Regions from separate parts of the Homo sapiens genome. Here all the other regions are linked to region 3. Evidence: promoter capture Hi-C in human tissues and cell types (Jung and others, 2019). All regions are on one chromosome and are shown on one strand. The core of a region is centred on a gene start or on the middle of the fragment in contact, and the rest is flanking DNA. Distances in the headings are between cores, read along the strand shown.

Region 1 (4,455 bases), core at 886-3,385, 410 kb before region 3:
ACTCCACATTCTGTGTGCAAAAATCTCCCCCAAAGCACTTGCCAGCTATCAGCTATGCAGAGAGGAGCCAGCAAGATGATGAACGCCAAGCAGAAGATGAACGCCAAGCAGAAGATTCACCATTTGAGGGTGTCACTGCCCAGCTGAGACCCCAGAAGGGCTGTACCCTAGGAACAAGGCCAACTGAAAACACATTTGCCTCAATGGGACACAGGCCTTCTGCCTATCCCCTGTATGATGGATGAATGACAATGTCACCCAGAACTTCTACGATTTCTCAAACACAACATCTGCAAAATACCAGGCACACTAGAAAACAAGACCCCAGGACAAAAAAACAAGAAGCCACAAAGAATCAATATCAATACTTTTTTCTTTTTCTTCTTCTTTTTTTTCTTTTTTTTTTGAGACGGAGTCTTTTGCTCTGTTGCCCAGGCTGGAGTGCAGTGGTGCTATCTCGGCTCACTGCAACCTCCACCTCCCGGGTTCAAGTGATTCTCCTGCCTCAGCCTCCCAAAGTGCTGGGATTACAGGAGTGAGCCACCATGCCTGGCTCAATAATTACTATTTGAAACAACAATAACAATGTCTTGTGGAGTTTTAAATAAGGGTTGATATCAACTGCCTAGTATAATCATTAGAAGAATAGAAATGTACCAACAAGCCAAAAAAAGAGTAAATATTTAAAATGTTTGATTGATCCAAAGAAAGTAAAAGCAAAAACAGAAAAAGGACATATGAGACAAATAATAGGACATAAGTTGAAAGTTTTCCCTCAAAAATCAGTTATTATATTAACTGTAAATAGTCTTAAATACTCCCATTCACAGACTGAATAAGAACAAGACAAAAGTCAACTGCATGCTGTTATAAGAGACATACCATGAATATAATGGACTAGAGAAATCAAAAGAAAAGGGATGAAACAAGCTATCCTGTGCAAATACAAACCCAAAGCAGAACTAAGTTAGCTACAAAGCCAACTTTAAGGAGAAAAGTATTTCCAATGATAAAAAGGAGTATTTAACACGATAAAAGACAATTCAACAAGGAGATATAACCAACTTCAATCTGTCTGCTCCTAATAACATGGCTTCAAACTAAAAAGCAAAAAGTGATGGAACTAAAAGGAAAAATAAACAAATCTGCAGTTACAGTAGGAATTATCATACCTTTCTCACAACTCATAAACAAGATGATTAAAAAATCCATAAGGGGCTGGGTGTAGTGGCTCACGTCTATAATCCCAGCACTTTGGGAGGCTGAGGCGGGTGGATTATTTGAGGTCAGGATTTGAGACCAGCCTGACCAACATGGTAAAACCCTGTCTCTACTAAAAGTACAAAAATTAGCTGGGTGTGGTGGCACACACCTGGAATCCCAGCTACTCAGGAGGCTGAGGCAGGAGAATTGCTTGAACCCAGGAGGCAGAAGTTGCAGTGGACCTGAGCCAAGATGCTGAAGAAGTGGCTGACACACGTGGACGTGTATTCTAATGTACACTGTAAGAATCTATTTACCGCAACTTGAAGACAAGGCAAGATCATTCCAGAATGCCGGAGGACCTTTGGGGTGGGGGTGGATGTCAGTGAGGCATCCATAGGGAGCTCTGGGGTGCCGGGATGTCCTATGTCTGCTCTGGATGGTGGTTCCACGTGGTTCACTTTGTAAAAACTTATCAGGTTGAGGCCGGGCGCATTGGCTCACACCTGTAATCACAGCACTTTGGGAGGTGGAGGCGGGTGGATCACCTGAGGTCAAGAGTTCAAGACCAGCGTGACCAACACGGAGAAACCCCGTCTCACTAAAAATACAAAATTAGCCCGGCGTGGTGGCTACTCAGGAGGCTGAGGCAGGAGAATCACTTGAACCTGGGAGGCGGAGGTTGCAGTAAGCCGAGACTGCGCCACTGCACCCCAGCTTGGGCAACAAGAGTGAAACTCTGTCTCAAAAGAAAAAAAAAATTATCAATATATTCCAGTAAGAAAAAGCTCAACAACTCCATAAAAAGTGAGCAAAGAACACAAGCAGTTCACAGAAAAAGAAACGCAAGTGGCTTCTAAACCCATGAAAAGACACTCAAGTTCCCGCCAGAGAGGCCAAGAATGATGAAGCCTGGAAGGTCCTGGGTGCAGGGACAGAGGCCTTGAGCCTGGCTGGGAGTGACGCTGCAGGCACTTTGGGTAGAGCCACCACATTTACAGATGCTCACACCCCTGACACAGGATTCCATTTCTAGAAGGCTTCCTACAGACGCGTGCTCAAATACGTCGACATGCTCATGAACACAGATATTCATCGCGATTCTGTCTGCAATAGCAAGACTGGAGAGGTGAGTCCTTCGGAGACTGGGATTATGGAATCTTCCTACCACGGAACCCATGAAACGGCTAAAAATAGCGAGGCAGCTCTGTGCCCACGGCTGTGGAGCAACCTGACCTGCACAGGGTTTTGAGCAAAAGCAGCAGGAAGCTGTGTTACAGTTAAAGAAAAACCCACAAGCACGCACATCTCCGTGGGAGGGTCGCACCAGGAACAACGGTGGGTGGTGGCCTCAGGGGTGGGCGGCTGGGGAGGGGACTCAGAGGTGGCAGCAGGTCCATGGGCAATCAGGCATCGCAGAAACACCATGGGGAAAGCGCTTACGACTCAGCTAAGTCGGCTCTCAGGAAAACCCGATGCACAGCTTGAGCAGCTTAGTGTGGCCCTGCTGGGCAAAGACCGTGCGTCCTGGTGAACCCAGGGTTCCCCAGGCTGACTGGACCAAGTCCCTTTTGTGGGTTTTAAGTTTCTTGATAGAACCCATCTGAAAACGCTGAACCAGGGGCTTCCTCCCGCCTCCACCTCTCCCCAGCCCAGACCCATCAGCCCTCGTCCAGGCCACCCCACGAGCAGCACGCACCTGGGAGGAAAGTGCGTTCTTGTGGATTTTCTTGTAGATCAGCGCCGGGCAGATGAAGCAGATGAGGCTTCCCATGGTCGCTCCTGTGAGGCCCAGGATGGTCTCCACTAGGATGGAGAAGTGACAGGAAGGGATGAGTGGGGAAGGGCTCTGGGAAGGAGGGGACCTGAGCTTTTGCCCTGCACACGGGTGAGCAAGCCAGCATTGAAGGAAATGCCGTCTAGGCGTGAGCCGGGAGCAGAGACGCCCTCTGTGCCCAGAAAGCCTGACAACCGCGGCTGATTCCTCCAACAGTGCATTTAGGCCCCGGGGTGAATTCTCTGATGGTTCATCTTTAAAGAGTCAGACACTAGGGACCTCCTGCCGAAACCAGATGCTGGCTGCGCACGGCACGGCTCCTGCGCCGCCTCTCCTGCCTGCTGCTCCATGAGTGGCCCTAGGAAGGCAGGACCTATCCTAGGGCAGGTGTAGAGGCCAGGGCCTGGCGGGTGCTGCCAGGCTGCAGCCCCTGCCAGGAGCCCAGACAGATCGCCTCTAGGGCTGTTCCCTGGGGAGAGTGCGTGCGAGTTCCCCTGTGATGTCATCCTCTGATGACAACGAGCTCTGTCTTGTCTGCTAGGGAGTGGGTGCATTTGGGTAACATAAATATGTTCAGAGCCTTCAACGCTTCCCTTGGTAATGCATCACCAAAATCAGAAGTCAAAAGAATCAACAGGACAGCATGCGCTGTTCTAGAATAGTTGGTTCTACAAATTGAGCCTGTGTCCCGGCACTGCAGTCTCTCTCTGCCCAGGTGTCAATGGGTGCCTGCTGTTCCATCAAGCTGACAGATTTTTTTTTTTTTTTTTTTTTTGGCTGGAGTGTAGTGGAGCGATCTCAGCTCACTGCAAGCTTCGCCTCCCAGGTTCACGCCATTCTCCTGCCTCAGCCTCCCAAGTAGCTGGGACTACAGGCACCCGCCACCACGCCCGGCTAATTTTTTTGTATTTTTAGTAGAGACGGGGTTTCACCGTGTTAGCCAGGATGGTTTCGATCTCCTGACCTCGTGATCCGCCCGCCTCGGCCTCCCAAACTGCGGGGATTACAGGCGTGAGCCACTGCGCCCAGCAAGCTGCCAGATTTTTTTTTTTTTGAGACGAAGTTTCTCTCTTGTTGCCCAGCCTGGAGTGCAATGGCGCAATCTTGGCTCACTGCAAACTCCTCCTCCCGGGTTCAAGTGATTCTTTTGCCTCAGCCTCCCAAGTAGCTAGGATTACAGGCATGCACCATGACGCCCTGCTAATTTTGTATTTTTAGTAGAGACGGGGTTTCTCCACATTGGTCAGGCTGGTCTTGAACTCCCAACCTCAGGTGATCCACCCACCTCAACCTCCCAAAGTGCTGGGATTACAGGTGTGAGCCACCGCACCTGGCTCAAGTTGCCAGATTTTATCCCCTGCCTTTCTCTGTGGGCCAGAGAAAAACTGACAAAGTCTCTAGACTTTTTTAAGAGACCAGAGAAGATGGTCTCTGTGCAGGTCTCGTAACTGTGCAGGTCTTGGTTGATGCCGAAG
Region 2 (4,794 bases), core at 672-3,171, 350 kb before region 3:
GGCCACACTGAGCACCCCTGGGAGCCAAGGCAGCTTAAGGACAAGGTGTGTATGAGGACGGCGGGGCCCAGGGAGGAGAGGCTAGCCCAGGGCTACCCGGGTCCCCGGAGTAGGGGCAGGGGACTTGAAAATGAGCCCCCAAGGGGCTCTGATGGGGGCAATTCCAGGAGAGGCGTGGGCAGGTGTGGGGCTGGAGAGAGGCCTGTCCTTTTTCCCTTGCCCTGCACACTGTCTGCAGGGTGGCAGACCCAGGCTGCCTGGCGAGGCTGCTTCTGGAGGCCTGAGGAAGGCTGGGCTGAGGACTCCGCCTCTCCTCAAAGCCACAGCCTCCCTGCTCTGGGGCTACATGTCGGGAAAATCCCTGCCTGGGTTACCCCAGCTGGGGACTCAAGCTCTCTTTGGACCCTACAGAAAGAGCTGGCCAGCCCCCAGGCCAGAAGGGCCGTCCGTGACCCACAGATGGCCCCAACACACTGTAAAACACGCATGATTTATTTTAGTGTGTGTTAGAAAAATAAAGCCAACACATCAAGCCTGCAATTTCGCAGATACTAACACTTCGGACCAGGAAAAAAGAAGCCCATGACATGGCACAGCGCTGTGGAGCGAGCGAGATCTGGGATGCGTAGGCCTGGACGGCTGAGGCTTGGAAACCCCTCCCCTCCCCAAACTTTCCCACCATGCAGGGGCCCAGCAGGCCCTCAGCCCACTCACCCCGCCAGAGGAGGGAGGAGGGAGGAGGGTCCGGGCCAGGTGGGAGCTTCTCCCCGGAGGCCTGAGGCAGCTTCCCTCCTCTCCCAGGAAGGGGCTGGCCCAGGCCCAGCTAGGATGCTCCCAGCCCAGCTCCTACCCGCCGGGTCTTTCCCGTTTGTCAGGCAGGCCGGCAGGCTGGGCTGGTGACTCATGACTGGCTGGGCCATCTGCCCTGCACCCCTGCCCCGGGCGAAGTGAGAAACCTGACCGGGCTCCAGCACAGACAGGAAACCCCACCCCAGGGCCTGCAGTGGGACAGGTGTGGCCGCCCTCCACCCCCACACAGGCCTCGGGGAGGGTGTCTGAGGCCGGCCTGGCCCTCTCTGCAGCACTGAAACACCAGCTGCCTCTCCCCAGCCCGGAACTGGGGATCCAGTGTCCTCCGCACTGACCCCAGGCTCTGCTCTCCCTGGGAAGCACCCGCTTTGACAGTGGGGCCAAGGACTGGGGTTCCCACCCTCCTCTGCCCAGTGGACTTTGTGGCCCCAGGCAGGTGGCATCAGCTCTCTGGGCCTAAGCTTCTCATCTCTGCAGGGTTCATCAGCTCAACAAGCATTTGTGGGTTCCTGAGACCTGAAGGCTCCACTCCCCCACCTAAGCACACAACAGTCCAGGCACCACCCACATCTCCCTCTTACCTGGAGCAGAGGGGCGGGTGTTCGGAGCCTTGGGGCCCAGGGTCATTTGCACTGGAGGGGGCCAGGAACGCTCCCAGGAGTGTGGCAGTCCCTTCCTAGGGGGCCCCTCCTGGAGCAGCTGCCTTGAGAGCCCAGCCTACAGCAGAGCCTGGTGGGGTGGCCGGGCTACTGCTACCTGGCTTCACTGCTTTCTTCTGCCATTCCTCCCAGGCTACCCAGGAGGACGAGAGGGGCAGGGTACTGGCGGCAGCAAGAGAGAACCCGCCCAGGAGGGCCCAGCACGGGAACTCCAGCCTCCAGAGCCAGCAGAGCCACGGGAACAGGAGTTCCTCCTCACAGAGGAGGCGCTGTTGGAGGGCCAGGAGCAAACTCCCAGCAGAGCAAAATGCAGAGGTGACCAGCCCAGGGCACACCAGCCACTGAAAAACCCAACAGTGGGGGCTGCCGTGGGGATCCAGGGTTGGGGGACTCTCAGACGGCCCCCCAGGCTTGTCCCCATGCGTATTCTTTGAGCTGATGGGGACGCAGTGTTCACAGTCCTGACAGGAGGCAGGCGTGACCCCAGTCGGGGAGTGGACTTGGCCCTCTTCACACCCCCAGGGCAGAAAGCCCTGTTCAGAGGTACCAGGGAGCAGGCACAGGCCAGGGTCCGAATTCGTAACAAGCATCCGGGACTCCACATGACGCAGGTCTGAGAATCGATCCCGGGTTCCAGCCCAGCCATCATTTTCAGAGAATACGGGCCCTGTCCCGAGCCGCCAGCCATTGCCAATGGCTGCCCGGAGGAAGGGAGGAAGGGGTGCCCCCAGCTTGTGGAACCAACAAGGGCTTAATGGTAGGGCACGCCCAGGGGCAGACGCCAAGAAAGGAGAGGAGGGGGCGGGGGCTCCGGCCAGGGAAGCCGTGTCCTCTGCACCAGGCAGAACAGGGGGCTGGGCCGCCCTCAGCCTGGATCTGGCCAGGGCTGGGATGCCAGCTCTGAGAACAGGGCCCAGCCCTCACCTGCTTGGTTTGCCTCTTGCCAGGGGAAGGGGCTCAGGAAGGTTTCTGAGCTGCCCCATGCCCCTGCCTGGAGTTCCTGACCCTCGGGGGAAGCTGAGGCTACAGAGAGCACGAAGTGCAAAAGGCCTGGTGGTTGGACCCAGAGCCCCTGTCCCTGGGTCCCCGCTCCTCCCCACCACCCCGTCCCAGCTCTCCCACGCTCCCACGAGGCCACATCATCTTCTGCTCCTGCTGAGTTCCCCTTCACGCATATGAAAAGCAAATTACAGGAGGGAGAAGGCAAACCCGGGGTGAACGGGGGCCTCCTGGGACTCCTTGGACCCCCGGGAGAGCCTGTGAGGGCTTCTATGGGCCGACTGGGATCTCAGGAGCAAAATAGGGGCCCCTAGCCCACAGCGGAGGGCGACTCTAATCAGCAGAGATCGCCCAGCATGCCTTATCCTCAGCAGCTCAGGGCCACCTGTGGGGCAGGGGGAGGGGGCCTGGCCAGCTGGGTCGGCCGCCCCCGGCAAAGCCAGGGGACGCCAGGAGCGGAGCTGTGTGGTGCAGAGCAACTGTGTCCCAGGGGAGGGGGGGTCTGTCTCCGCTCCTCCCAGCTGCAGGCCCTGGGCAGCCGCAACCTCTCAGAGCCTGCCTGCCCCTCTCCTGAGGTCTGGATTTTGCCAGCACAGAGCAGGGACCTCAGCAATATGCCCAGCCTGGCGCAGGCCCAGGGCAGGCCCTCTATCCGCAGGGCATCCTCTGGTCTACAAGTTCTGTGACGACGTGGCTGGCACCAGGGTCTGAGGGCTTTGATGCTGGGGAACGTCCTTGCGCCTCTGCAGTAGATGTGAAAGTCTGTGGAGCCCGGGGACCTGGAGCAGGTGGCCTGGGTGGGGCTGCTGCCTTCTGGGCCAGGACCAGATTCCACTCCCTGGCTGGACAGCCCTGGGCACAGCGTTTAAACACCCAACACTTCAACTCTGCTCTGTGAAACGGGGATGATTCTAACAGTGCTGGATCACGGCATGGTTGGGAGGCTTGGGTGAGGTCATGTGTTCCATGATCCTGTCCACACGAAGGTCATGCAGCCTTGGGGGGCACTGGAGCGGCAGGTGTGGTTTTGGGGACCTGCCACGGGCCACAGCCCTAGACCAAGCCGGACCATCGGGACTCTTTTCCTGGAATTTGAATGCTGAGCCGAGGGACACTGGGCTTGTGCTGGGGCCACTCCCGAGCCGCTGCTGTTGGGGCCTGAACAGCGCCTTCCCCCTGCCCTCCCTGCTGCAAGCTCCAACCAAATACCTGCTCCCGGCTTCAGTTAGTCAGAGTCCACTTCTGGCACCTGCAGTCAAATTTATTGATTGATTGATTTGAGAGAGTCTTGCTCTGTTGCCCAGGCTGCAGGGCAGTGGTGAGAATAAGGCTCACTGCAGCTTCGACCTCCTGGACTCAAGCGATCCTCGGCTTCCCAAGTAGCTGGGTCTACAGGCACACACCACCACGCCTGGCTAATTTTTGTGTTTTTTGCAGAGATGGGGTCTCACTATGTTGTCCAGCCTGGGCTCAAGCAATCCTCCTGCCCTGGCTTCCCAAAGTGCTAGAATTACAGGCATGAACCACCATGCCAGCCGAAAGTGTCTCTGCACATCTGCACAAATAAAATGTATTTCTGTACGTACACTGATTTGTACCCAGAAGCCCTTTTAAAAAATATTGTGTCACCTTGGCTTCCTCTCTTACTTCTTGCTCCCCCTTTATGTAAAACTGCTGAATCTTTTGAGTGTCAGTTGCAGACACCTTGACACTTCACCCTAAATACTGTAGCATCAAATGTCTAAGAACACCTGCCTGCCTCCAGCAGCACGCCTGGGGAAACGCAGTGCCACACAGAACGATGCACGGCCCCGTGGCCCCGCCTGCTGTGTGTAAACTTCCCAGTCAGCTCCACGGCCCGCCAGAGCAGTCCCACCCCAAGCCTCGTTCAGGATCCTATCCAGGGTCTCCCGTTAGCCTCCTCTCATCTATAACACGCACCGCACCCTTTTGCCTTTTTAAAAACATTGCCCTTTTCTGAGCATCCGGAGAGGTGATTCCGAGAATGCCTCCGGATCCGACTCCCCTGTGCTCAGTGCAGGTCAAGCGTCCCAGGCAGGAGCATCACTCAGGGGCTGCTGAGCCACCCGAGGGAAGGCAAGCCTGGGAGAGGCAGTCCCGCAGCCGTTGTCCTGCCACTCGGGGGCCTCTGATGGCCTCTCCTCTGGTGCCATCTCCCACCCCAGAGCTGGACAGCAGGCCTGGGGAGTGGCCTCTCAGATCTGTCCCTTTGGTGGTCTTGGGGCTCCTACGGGGGCACCTTCCTCTTGTTTCTCCCCTAAGCAGGCAGGAGGTGGCTGGCGGAGAGCAGAGGGGACCCCTGATG
Region 3 (5,000 bases), core at 1-2,500:
TAGCTTTAAACAAAGCTTTGGGAACAAGCAGAAGCAGAGGGAATCGAGTTTTATGAAGACGACCTGGTGTCACTCGTCTCTGTCCTCATGTGGCCATCAGTTCTCCATACTGGTATCCGCGGCACAGGCCTTATCAAGATGAGACCAACCAGAGGTACGTATAAGTCCAACATAAACACAGACGTACCGGGGAGTGACACAGAGGGCCAAGTCTGTTCTCTGCGGAGCAGCAGCCCTGCCCTCAGCAAGCCCTCTGTGAGCTCCTACCGGGGGCCTGGGAGCGCAAGCACCAGAAACCAGACAGGGTGCCCAGCAGGAAGCAACACTAGCTAAGACCTATTTCCATGAGTAGTATAGTCACTAAATAACCCAAACCCCTTTCTACACACAGCAAGGTTGGGGACTGGACGTCACAGAAATGTAGACACACTTCCCTAAAGGAAGCCCATATAGGATTACAACCCACCAGGAGAGAACGGCAGTTTCCATAGTAACTGGACCAGATGGGGCCCATGCACCCCCCAAGCTCCCGGATGGTGATCTTTCTCTGTGCCACGATGTCAGTAAGATTGGTGCCCACCTATAGGAAAAACCACGATGCAAAAAGAACAATACAACCGCTGTCCCGTTGTGAACTCCTGAAGAGCACCGTGCCCACACCTTACACGGTGGCCTGAACCCCGCAGACCCATTCTCCCTAACGCAGGAACGGCGAGCAGGGACCGACGCCCATCAGTAGCTGGACTCGCTGTGGGGGCGACCAGCCACAGGAAGCCGTTGCGAGGGGAGAGGAAGTGCCCGTGGAGGGCGGCAGGCCCCCTCATCCCGCGCCAATTATCCTCAGCTCGGGCCGTCCCCCGCTCCCGAAGGCTGGCCTTAAGTCACGACCTGACCCGCTGCGCCTCGGCGTGCACTTAGAGGAGCCCGGAGCTCTTCGCCAAGCGCAGAACTGACCCCCCGCAACTCCACCCGCGGGGGCGGACACCTACCGTGGGCCGTGTCGGGGGCGGCTCCCCCAGGTCGCCTTTCCCATCCCGGGAGCTCACCTGTGCGAAGCGGTCAAGGACCCGAGCAGCTAAAGGGTGAGTCCCCGCCCCACTCCGGGTGCCCCCCGCGCCCCGGTCCCGTCCCCGCGCGGAAGGATATCCTGCAGCCGTTTCACCAGCAGCGTCTTCCCGACGCCCGTGGCCCCCAGCAGGAGACACATTCCGTGCTTCGCTCCACCCGGCACCCGTAGCTCGGCGCCGCGGCTCAAGGCCCGCCCACCGGCCACTCTCATTGGATAGTTCTCACCTTCGGACTTCTCATTGGTTCTTAGGGCTCATTGTTCCAAGGGCGCGTCCAATTAGCGCGCAGCGTTAGCGGGAGAGCGGAAGACCCCGCCTCCTCGCGGCTCTAGGGCCGGCGCGGTGACGTGCGCGTGCGCGCACTGGAGGGAAAAGGCGGAAGCGGAAGTCGGGGGGCGCGCCAGCTCGTAGCAGGGGAGCGCCCGCGGCGTCGGGTTTGGGCTGGAGGTCGCCATGGGGCGAGGCAGCGGCACCTTCGAGCGTCTCCTAGGTAACGCGTCCCCACCCGACGGCTCGGCCTTGGTCAGCCCGCAGCCTCCGCCCGGCGCTGAGTCAGCGCGGCCCCGAGGGCCCGAGGGGCGCGGACCGGCCGCCCTGCCCGCCTCTCCCCGGCCCGCTGTCCTCCCGGGTTCGGAGCCGCCGATCCTGGACCCTCGGCGCGGCCGTGGGGTCGGCGTCCGTCGGGCGTTGGCAAATGGGGCTCTGCGAGGGTCCGCGCAGGGCGCCAGGGGCGCTCGGCGACCTCGCTCCTCCGCGGGCCCGGGCATTCGGCCGATTTCCTCTTGACCGACGAGCACCCGGCCGAGTGGGCCACAAGGCCTGAGTCATGAAAGTGGGTGACTCAGTCGGATGTTAGGCTCGCACTTGGGCTTCTGACCCAAAACACTGGGCCTCGAAGGGTGGAGCCGGCAGTGTTCTCTCTGGGACCTTCGAGCTCTCTTGGGGGCTGCGGGTCCCAGACCCACCTTTTGTTCCCACACTGGCTTCGGGAAGTGCCTAATGGTTTAGGAAGGCGTTTTCTCACGTTTTTGGAGGTGAAAGCTGATCCTATCTGAGCCTCCTGGAATTGACGCGTTTTGGGAGGGAAACGAATGTTGATGTGCACGTGCCCAGCAGCACGTGGAAAATGCGTCTAATGTTTGGGGGTAGGAGCTTGGGTGGTCGAATGGGCTGCCCAAGCTTGCCTTTTTGTCAAGTAGGGTTTTCAAGGAGACTTCAAGTGAGACACCTTCCTTGCCAAGGGAACCAGCAAGCAGACTGAGTATCTCAGCCACACAGGTAGTTCAGTGCTTCAGGGATGAATCCAGAGGTTAACTACTGAATCAGTATAGAAAGTGGACGTGGCTTGGCTTGTTAGATCGTTTCTGTATCCGGGAAAGGCGATGTGGGCAGAGCTGGAGCTGCCCCCCCAGAGGGGCCAGTTGTTGGAGACAGCAGTGATGTGGTATGATGACAGGTATGCTGGCGAGTCCTCCTTGGAGCCCCGTTCTGCCCTTATTTCCAAAGCACTTGGCTTGGAGCAAGGGGCCTGGAGTCTACACTGCAGGCCTCTCTAGCCCTTGCCCAAGCTAAGGTCCCATTGAAACCGGGAGCATCTGGGCGAACGGGGACTCCAAGGGACGGGTGATAGGGTTCTTTGTTGAGAAGCAGCCGAGCCTGATGTTTAAGAGTGAATCAGCCTCTGTCTCTGGTGAGCTGTGTGACTCACGGCAGTGCCCTCGCCTCTCTGCTGAGTGTCTTTACCTCGCTCGCGGGTTGTGGGAGGGCTTGGACCAGCACCTGGTGTGCTCTTACGCTGTTTGCTGCTTCCCTGGGGAGGATGGCACTTCCCTGCCCATCAGCACGCTCAGGAGGATTCTGTCATGCTTTTTCATTTGGTCCAAATGTCTAAAGGGGAAGGAGAGAGTCCCCCCCAGCTGCTGCCAAGCTGGGGTGCTGCACGGGGCGTCCAGCAGGATAACCCCTCCCTTTCATGGCATTTTCTCTCTCAGACAAGGCGACCAGCCAGCTCCTGTTGGAGACAGATTGGGAGTCCATTTTGCAGATCTGCGACCTGATCCGCCAAGGGGACACACAGTGAGTTAGCGGGGCCTGTGCCCTGATGCGGAGGAGCAGCCGTGCACTAAGCTGGGCTCGCTTGGTGCCCGTTGGGTCTCCACGACGTAGCTGACCGTGTTAGGCTCTTATGTGGAGAACTGCATGGGCTACATGCTAGGATTTTTTGACATCTTGGAGGATTAAGGGGTTTTCTCTGTACAGCTTGCAGATACCTGGTTATGTTTGTATTTGCTTCGGGGTTCTCAAAGACTAAGATGGCAGACAGACTTTTTTTTTTAAGACGGGGCCTTGCTTTGTCACCCAGGCTGAAGTGCAGTGGCGTGATCTCAGCTCACTGCAGCCCCTGCCTCCCAAGCTCAAACGATCGTCCCACCTCAACCTCCTGAGTAGCTGGGACTACAGGCATTCACCATCACGCCCGGCTGATTTTTTGTATTTTGGTAGAGATGGGTTTTTGCCGTAATGCACAGGCTGGTCTCAGACTCCTGGGCTCAAGCAATCCTCCTGCCTTGGCCTCCCAAAGCACTGGGATTACAGGCGTGAGCCACTGCACCTGGCAGCAGATGAGCTTTTCTCATCTTAGTTGCTGAGACTATTTTTTTCCCGTTTTTCTCTGCTTTTATCAATGTTTCCTTTTCAGAGCAAAATATGCTGTGAATTCCATCAAGAAGAAAGTCAACGACAAGAACCCACACGTCGCCTTGTATGCCCTGGAGGTAAGCAGACCCCCGTGCCTCAGTGGCCCCCAGGGTCCCTACCCCCTACTAGTCACGACAGCATGAGAAGAGTTTGTCCTGTGGCCTTGCCCACCTCCCTGGGCATACATCAAGCAGGAGAGTTTCCACTCAGCCTTGAGTGCCTGTGTGAACAGTGCCACCTAGGAGAGGGTCACGCTGAGGGAGAGACAGGAGATAGGGGAGGGAGTGGGCACCACTTCTTCAGCCGGTCCTGCGTGAGTAAACACCAGAAGGCGGATGTCATTGCTGTGCTTGGCAGTGAGACTTGGCGTCACGGAGCGGTGCTGTGCAGGCTGCTGAGTCTCAGATGTGGGTTCCCCACTGGCCTGACGGGCCTGTTGAAGGGCTGCTGTCCCACCGGGTTCCCCACCGGCCACTGACGGGCCTGTCGAAGGGCTCTGCTGTCCCACCGGGTTCCCCTCCGGCCACTGACGGGCCTGTCGAAGGGCTCTGCTGTCCCACCGGGTTCCCCACCGGCCACTGACGGGCCTGTCGAAGGGCTCTGCTGTCCCACAGGGAGGTGGGTCTGTCCGGGAGGAGGAGGGGCCCTGCCCTGACCACTGGCCCAACCCTTCCCTTCCTGGGCATCTGCAGGTCATGGAATCTGTGGTAAAGAACTGTGGCCAGACAGTTCATGATGAGGTGGCCAACAAGCAGACCATGGAGGAGCTGAAGGACCTGCTGAAGGTGGGTGAGACGGGGGCATGCGGGTGGCCACCCAGGCTGGCACCTTTGCTTCTCCGGGTGTTTACTGGGCACTGATGACAGAACAGCACCAGGTGTGGCGGAAAATGTGCAGGTGCAGATCGGTGGTCCCTGCACTGCGCAAGCTCGCACTCATGAGTCGGAGAGACAGGGCCGTGAGCCCCAATCCAGGGAGGTCAGGGTTTAGCAGGAGCCGGCCTGGGGTGCTGTGTCTGGAGGACCAAGGTGACAGCGACCCTGGGGCCTGGGGGAAGCTTCCGGGAGGCAGGGCTTGGGCACCTGCTGTCTTAGGGAAGGTGAGTAGATGCCACTGGGTGGGCAGGGCAGGTGGTGGCTATCGTGTGTGAGAGTGGCTGTGGTCCGGAGGGCAGGCTGGCCACATCCCACAGGCAGGGGCCTGGGAGGGCTCTGAGCGGGGGCTTGTAAGATCGGA
Region 4 (4,847 bases), core at 2,348-4,847, 290 kb after region 3:
TCACGCCCAGCTACTTTTTGTATTTTTTGTAGAGATAGGGTTTCACCATGTTGGCCAGGCTGGTTTTGAACTCCTGACCTCAGGTGATCCACCCGCCTTGGTCTCCCAAAATGCTGGGATTACAGGCGTGAGCCACTGCACCTGGTTGAGACTGGCCTTATTCTTAGGAAAGAGAAAAACTGAAGTATTTAGTGGCGAAGGTGCTCAATGTCTTTACTGCAGCCTCGACCTCCTGGGCTCAAGTGATCCTCCTGCCTCAATCTCTCAAATCGCTGGGACTACAGGGACATGCCACCATGCCTAGCTAACCTTTGTATTTTTTGTAGAGCTGGGGTCTCACTATGTTGCCTAGGGTGGTCTCAAACTCCTAGGCTCAAATGATCCTCCTACTTTGGCCTCCCAAAGTGCTGGGATTATAGGTGTAAGCCACTGTGCCTGGCCAGAAAAAGTTTTTACATGTATATGGAGAGAGAGAAAGAGAATATGATAAAACAAATGGGGTGACATGTAAACACTGATTTATCTGGCTAAAAGATATACAGGAGGCTGGGCGTGGTGGCTCACACCTGTAATCCCAGCACTTTGGGAGGCTGAGGCGGGTGGATCACGAGGTCAGGAGATTGAGACCATCCTGGCTAACATGGTGAAACCCCATGTCTACTAAAAATACAAAAAATTAGCCGGGCATGGTGGCAGGTGCCTGTAGTCCCAGCTACTCGGGAGGCTGAGGCAGGAGAATGATGTGAACCCGGGAGGCGGAGCTTGCAGTGAGCCGAGATTGCACCACTGCACTCCAGCCTGGGCAACAGAGCGAGACTCCGTCTCAAAAAACAAAACAAAACAAAACAACAACTAGCTGGGTGTGGTGCTGCACACCTGTAGTCCCAGCTACTCGGGAGGCTGAGGCAGAAGAATCGCTTGAACCCGGGAGGCAGAGGTTGCAGTGAGCTGAGATTTCGCCACTGCACTCCAGCCTGGCGACAGAGGGAGACTCCATCTCCAAAAAAAAAAAAAAAAAAAAAAGATATACAGCAGGAATTCTTGCTTTTGCAAACTTTTCTTCTCTTTCTTCCTTCCTCCTCCCTCTTCTTCTTTCTTCTCCTTCTCCTTTTTTGAGACGGTATCGTACTACGTTGCTCGGGCTGGGGTGCAGTAGTTATTCATAGGCATGAATAGTGGTTCACTAAGGCTGGAACTTAAGTAATTCTCCTGCCTCGGCCACCGGAGTAGCTAAGACTACAGGTGTGAGCCACCTTGCTCGGCTAAGTTTGAAATAATATCAGGATAAAAGATCATCCCTCCTATCAAAAAAAGCATAGGAGCCAGCTTAAAGGAGGTCTCACTGGCCAAATTCGGACCAATTTGAGCATCAAAAAGAATGCTGACTGAATGAAAAAAATACATGAATTCATATTAATAAATATATATATTTCAAGATGGGGTTTCACTCTTGTCGCCCAGGCTGGAGTGCAATGGTGCGATCTTGGCTCGTTGCAACCTCCATCTCCCAGGTTCAAGTGATTCTCCTACCTCAGTGTCCCGAATAGCTGGGATTACAGGCACGCACCGCCATGCCCGGCTAATTTTTGTACTTTTTTTTTAAGTAGAGACAGGATTTCACCATGTTGGCCAAGATGGTCTCAATCTCTTGACCTTGTGATCTGCCCAACTCAGCCTCCCAAAGTGCTGGGATTACAGGCGTGAGCCACCGCGCCTGGCCATATTTAATTTTTTTTTTTTTTTTTTTTTTGAGACAGAGTCTTGCTCCGTCTCCCAGGCTGGAGTACAGTGGCGTGATCTCAGCTCACTGCGAGCTCTGCCTCCCGGATTCACGCCATTCTCCTGCCTCAGCCTCCCAAATATTTAATAACTTTTTAAAGAAGGGGAAGCTTGACCGAAAGTGACTATAAATGTAGAAGAAACAATAAACTTGGGAAGCCATGATTTTGCAGCTTTACGGTTTAACACTGAATCTACTCATTAACTGATGCTAAAACTGTTGGGCAAATGGTTATTGGGAAAACTTGATGCTTGTGGTCTCAGAGAATGACCTCACGCATGCCTTAATTACTCCACAAGGAGCCACGGACCTTGACCATGGAGGAATTCAGCAGACCCAAAGCTGACCAAGTGGTTCAACTTCACGTCCTCACTCATGGCCACGCTGATGTCCTGCACCTCCTGCTGACTTGTCACCTCCCTTCATCATTGCCCCAAACGTTTAACCAAGGATCCAGACTGTGGGACAGTCTAAGGAAAATAGGAACAGACTCTTCAAAAACGCCACTAAAGAATTAAAACCCACCAGGTGATGTGTGGCTCAGTAAGGTTCTGAGGTTGCACAGAGCATGGGACTGGCTGGCTGGATGGGAGGGCTATGGCTAGCCTGGGGCTTTCCCCAGGTTTCTCCAATGTACATAGATGTCCGTGTTTGTCAGCATACAGGTGTGTGTGGGTGACATGGATATGTCATCGACAGGAAGGCACAACAGCACCCATGCAGAGATGTCCTTAGACTCAGCAATGACTGCCGGGTGCGGTGGCTCACGTGTGTAATCCCAGCCCTGTGGGAGGATTGACTGATAACTGCACCAGTTCCCCCTTCCACAGGCTACTGGGCAGCTGAGCCCTAGCCAGGAGTCCGCAGAGACAGGCAGGCACATGGAGAGAGGAGTGCCAAGGCCCGGCTGAGCCATGGAGGTGGGGGGCGGGGCGGAACACGTGCGAGTGCTGTCCATGAGTGGCCCAGGTGCTGGGAGCTAAGCACATTCGACGGCTGCGAGTCAGGAGGGCAGCTCCTTCTGGAAGCCTGGAGCTGGTGAGGCCAGGTGCTTTCCCTGCTGCGGTGGCTGGCGATGGGAGTGTTTCCTGAGGCTGCCACCAAGCCCCTCCTCAGCATGGGTTGGTGCGGGAAGTCCTTGAGTGCCTGTGGGTCGGCAGGAGCTCCGGTGAGACTCAAGTTCGCTCACCCCACGGTTCTGAAACCGGTCTCCCGCCTTTCCTACCCTCAGGTTTAGGGACCGTCGCGGCAGCCCTAGGGCTGCCAGATTCTGCACTCCCATTTTAGGATGAAAGAAATCAGGTCTAGACTGAGGGCCACGAGTCCCAACACCCAGGGAGGATCCGTACAGGGGCGGGGGGACTGCCCCAAACCATAAGGTCAGGAGGTGGACGCTGACCACAGGGACAGGTGGGCAGGGAAGAGGCTCAGCTGCTGGAGTGGAGGAAGCCGGGAGGGTCGGGGGAGAGCAGGGCACCGAGCTGGGGACGTGTCAGGGACGAAGCGAGGGTGGGCGAGCGCGGACCGCTGGGACCCCGGGGCTCAGTGCCGCTCACCGGGGGTGACCGCGCGCCCAGCCCCGGCCCAGCCTGGCCCCGGCGAGCCCATCCAAGCCGCGCTTCCCGGAGGCAGAGGACGACCGCGCTTTCCGGGTCTGGCGCGGGCTTTGGCGGCCCAAGGGCGGGGCCGGGGCGCCGTGGGTGGGGAAAGGGCGGGGCCTGGCAGGACCCGGAAGTGCGCTGCGGCCCCGCCCCCTGGCCGCGTGGCTGCGCGTCCTGGCTGTTGCCGATAAAGTTGTTTGACGCCGGCCCGGCGGCGGGTCACGTGAGCGGAAAATGGCGGCCCCGGCAGGCGGCGGAGGCTCCGCGGTGTCGGTGCTGGCCCCGAACGGCCGGCGCCACACGGTGAAGGTGACGCCGAGCACCGTGCTGCTTCAGGTGCGGCCGCCCGCCCGGGGCGGACGGGTAGGCGGGCGGGGGGCGCTGCGCCGAGGCCCCGCCCATTGCGGTCGGCGTCCCGGTGTTCGGGGGCGGGGCCTCGGCGGCCAATGAGCGGCCTCCTGAGCGGCGGCCCCGCCCCCTGCTCGCCGTCACCTGCGCTTCCGCTGGGGTCCCGGGGGTCCCGGGGGTCCCGAGTGGGGGCGGGGCGGTGGCGAGCCTTCCCAGGGGTGAGGTAGAACGGCGCCGCGTGTCACCCGCATCGAGTACTCGGCGCCCGGCCGAGCCCAGCTCGCGAGGGCGCCGGGAAGAGGGAGGAGTGGAGCCCTAGACCCGCGTTCCCATTCCGGGGCGTCCCCCGGAGCGGGAGCCCGGGTTGCGCGGTGGCAGATGTCCCGGCCGTGGGGCCTGGAAGCGATTTTTGCCGAGTCACTCACTGCACTTTTACTTGGGCACCTTGTGACCGCGAATCAATTAAATGTAAAAGTATTGGCTGGGCGCGGTGGCTCACGCCTGTAAATCCCAGCACTGTGGGATGCCGAGGCGGGTGGATCACGAGGTCAAGAGATCAAGACCATCCTGGCTAAAACGGTGAAACCCCGTCTGTACTAAAAAAATACAAAAAAATTTAGCCGGGCGTGGTGGCGGGCGCCTGTAGTCCCAGCTACTCGGGAGGCTGAGGCAGGAGAATGGCGTGAACCTGGGAGGCAGAGCTTGCAGTGAGCCGAGATCGCGCTACTGCACTCCAGCCTGGGAGACAGAGCGAGACTCCATATCAAAAAAAAAAAAAAAAAGTATTTATTGAGCCTCTGCTGCGTGGGGGACCGTGAGGATCCGAAGGTGCACACGACTCGGAGTTTGCGGGAGCAGCCCACGGCGTGGGGTCCCCAGGCCTGGGCAGGTGGAGGGCGCAGCCAGGAGGCTGTTGGTGCCAGGCGTGCAGAGTGCGGAAGTGGGGCGCTCCCGCAGAGGCTGCGCGGGACCCCTTGGTGCAAGGCCACGGCTTTGGCTTTTTATGGAGAAGAGGGGCGGAGGCGGTGCAGGCAGTGGCAGCAGGTGCACAGAACCGTGCCAGAGCCAGGGGGTAGCTTGTGCTAGGCAAGTTTAAGGCAGGTTGCAGAACTACAGGG

What was found. Contacts are between HindIII fragments. The study calls those that stand out against the background at their distance.
Region 1: a contact is called between a fragment that was not itself captured here and the fragment with the promoter of ARL16 in region 3, in 1 of the 25 tissues and cell types used here (dorsolateral prefrontal cortex).
Region 2: the fragment with the promoter of TMEM105 here is called in contact with the fragment with the promoter of ARL16 in region 3 in 1 of the 25 tissues and cell types used here (aorta).
Region 4: the fragment with the promoter of ASPSCR1 here is called in contact with the fragment with the promoter of ARL16 in region 3 in 1 of the 25 tissues and cell types used here (dorsolateral prefrontal cortex).

The regions. Positions count from the first base shown.
Region 1 is chr17:81,268,016-81,272,470 of GRCh38, forward strand. SLC38A10 (solute carrier family 38 member 10) reads right to left here. Exons shown (of 16, transcript NM_001037984.3): 10 at 2,903-3,009. Among named protein-coding and RNA genes, the nearest start is that of SLC38A10, 25 kb to the right of the region's middle. The HindIII fragment of the contact is 5,517 bases long and covers 1-4,455 here.
Region 2 is chr17:81,328,753-81,333,546 of GRCh38, forward strand. It overlaps TMEM105 (TMEM105 long non-coding RNA), which reads right to left and starts at 1,922. Exons shown (of 3, transcript NR_165247.1): 1 at 1,392-1,922. RefSeq lists enhancers at 1-262, 263-834, 835-1,404, 2,548-3,118, 3,119-3,689. The HindIII fragment of the contact is 14,660 bases long and covers 1-4,794 here.
Region 3 is chr17:81,682,547-81,687,546 of GRCh38, forward strand. It overlaps ARL16 (ARF like GTPase 16), which reads right to left and starts at 1,251. Exons shown (of 5, transcript NM_001040025.3): 1 at 1,147-1,251; 2 at 990-1,048; 3 at 467-580. The coding sequence starts at 1,207. HGS (hepatocyte growth factor-regulated tyrosine kinase substrate) reads left to right here and starts at 1,465. Exons shown (of 22, transcript NM_004712.5): 1 at 1,465-1,557; 2 at 3,059-3,143; 3 at 3,766-3,841; 4 at 4,457-4,549. The coding sequence starts at 1,521. RefSeq lists enhancers at 716-935, 1,153-1,447 and silencers at 1,036-1,115, 1,326-1,385, 1,596-1,695. The HindIII fragment of the contact is 7,981 bases long and covers 1-3,533 here.
Region 4 is chr17:81,974,032-81,978,878 of GRCh38, forward strand. ASPSCR1 (ASPSCR1 tether for SLC2A4, UBX domain containing) reads left to right here and starts at 3,598. Exons shown (of 16, transcript NM_024083.4): 1 at 3,598-3,717. The coding sequence starts at 3,616. LOC105371939 (a long non-coding RNA gene) reads right to left here and starts at 3,454. Exons shown (of 2, transcript XR_933953.4): 1 at 3,337-3,454; 2 at 1,937-2,926. It overlaps LOC124904087 (a long non-coding RNA gene), which reads left to right. Exons shown (of 2, transcript XR_007065951.1): 2 at 2,080-2,304. RefSeq lists enhancers at 2,210-2,983, 2,984-3,755 and a silencer at 3,234-4,093. The HindIII fragment of the contact is 10,548 bases long and covers 19-4,847 here.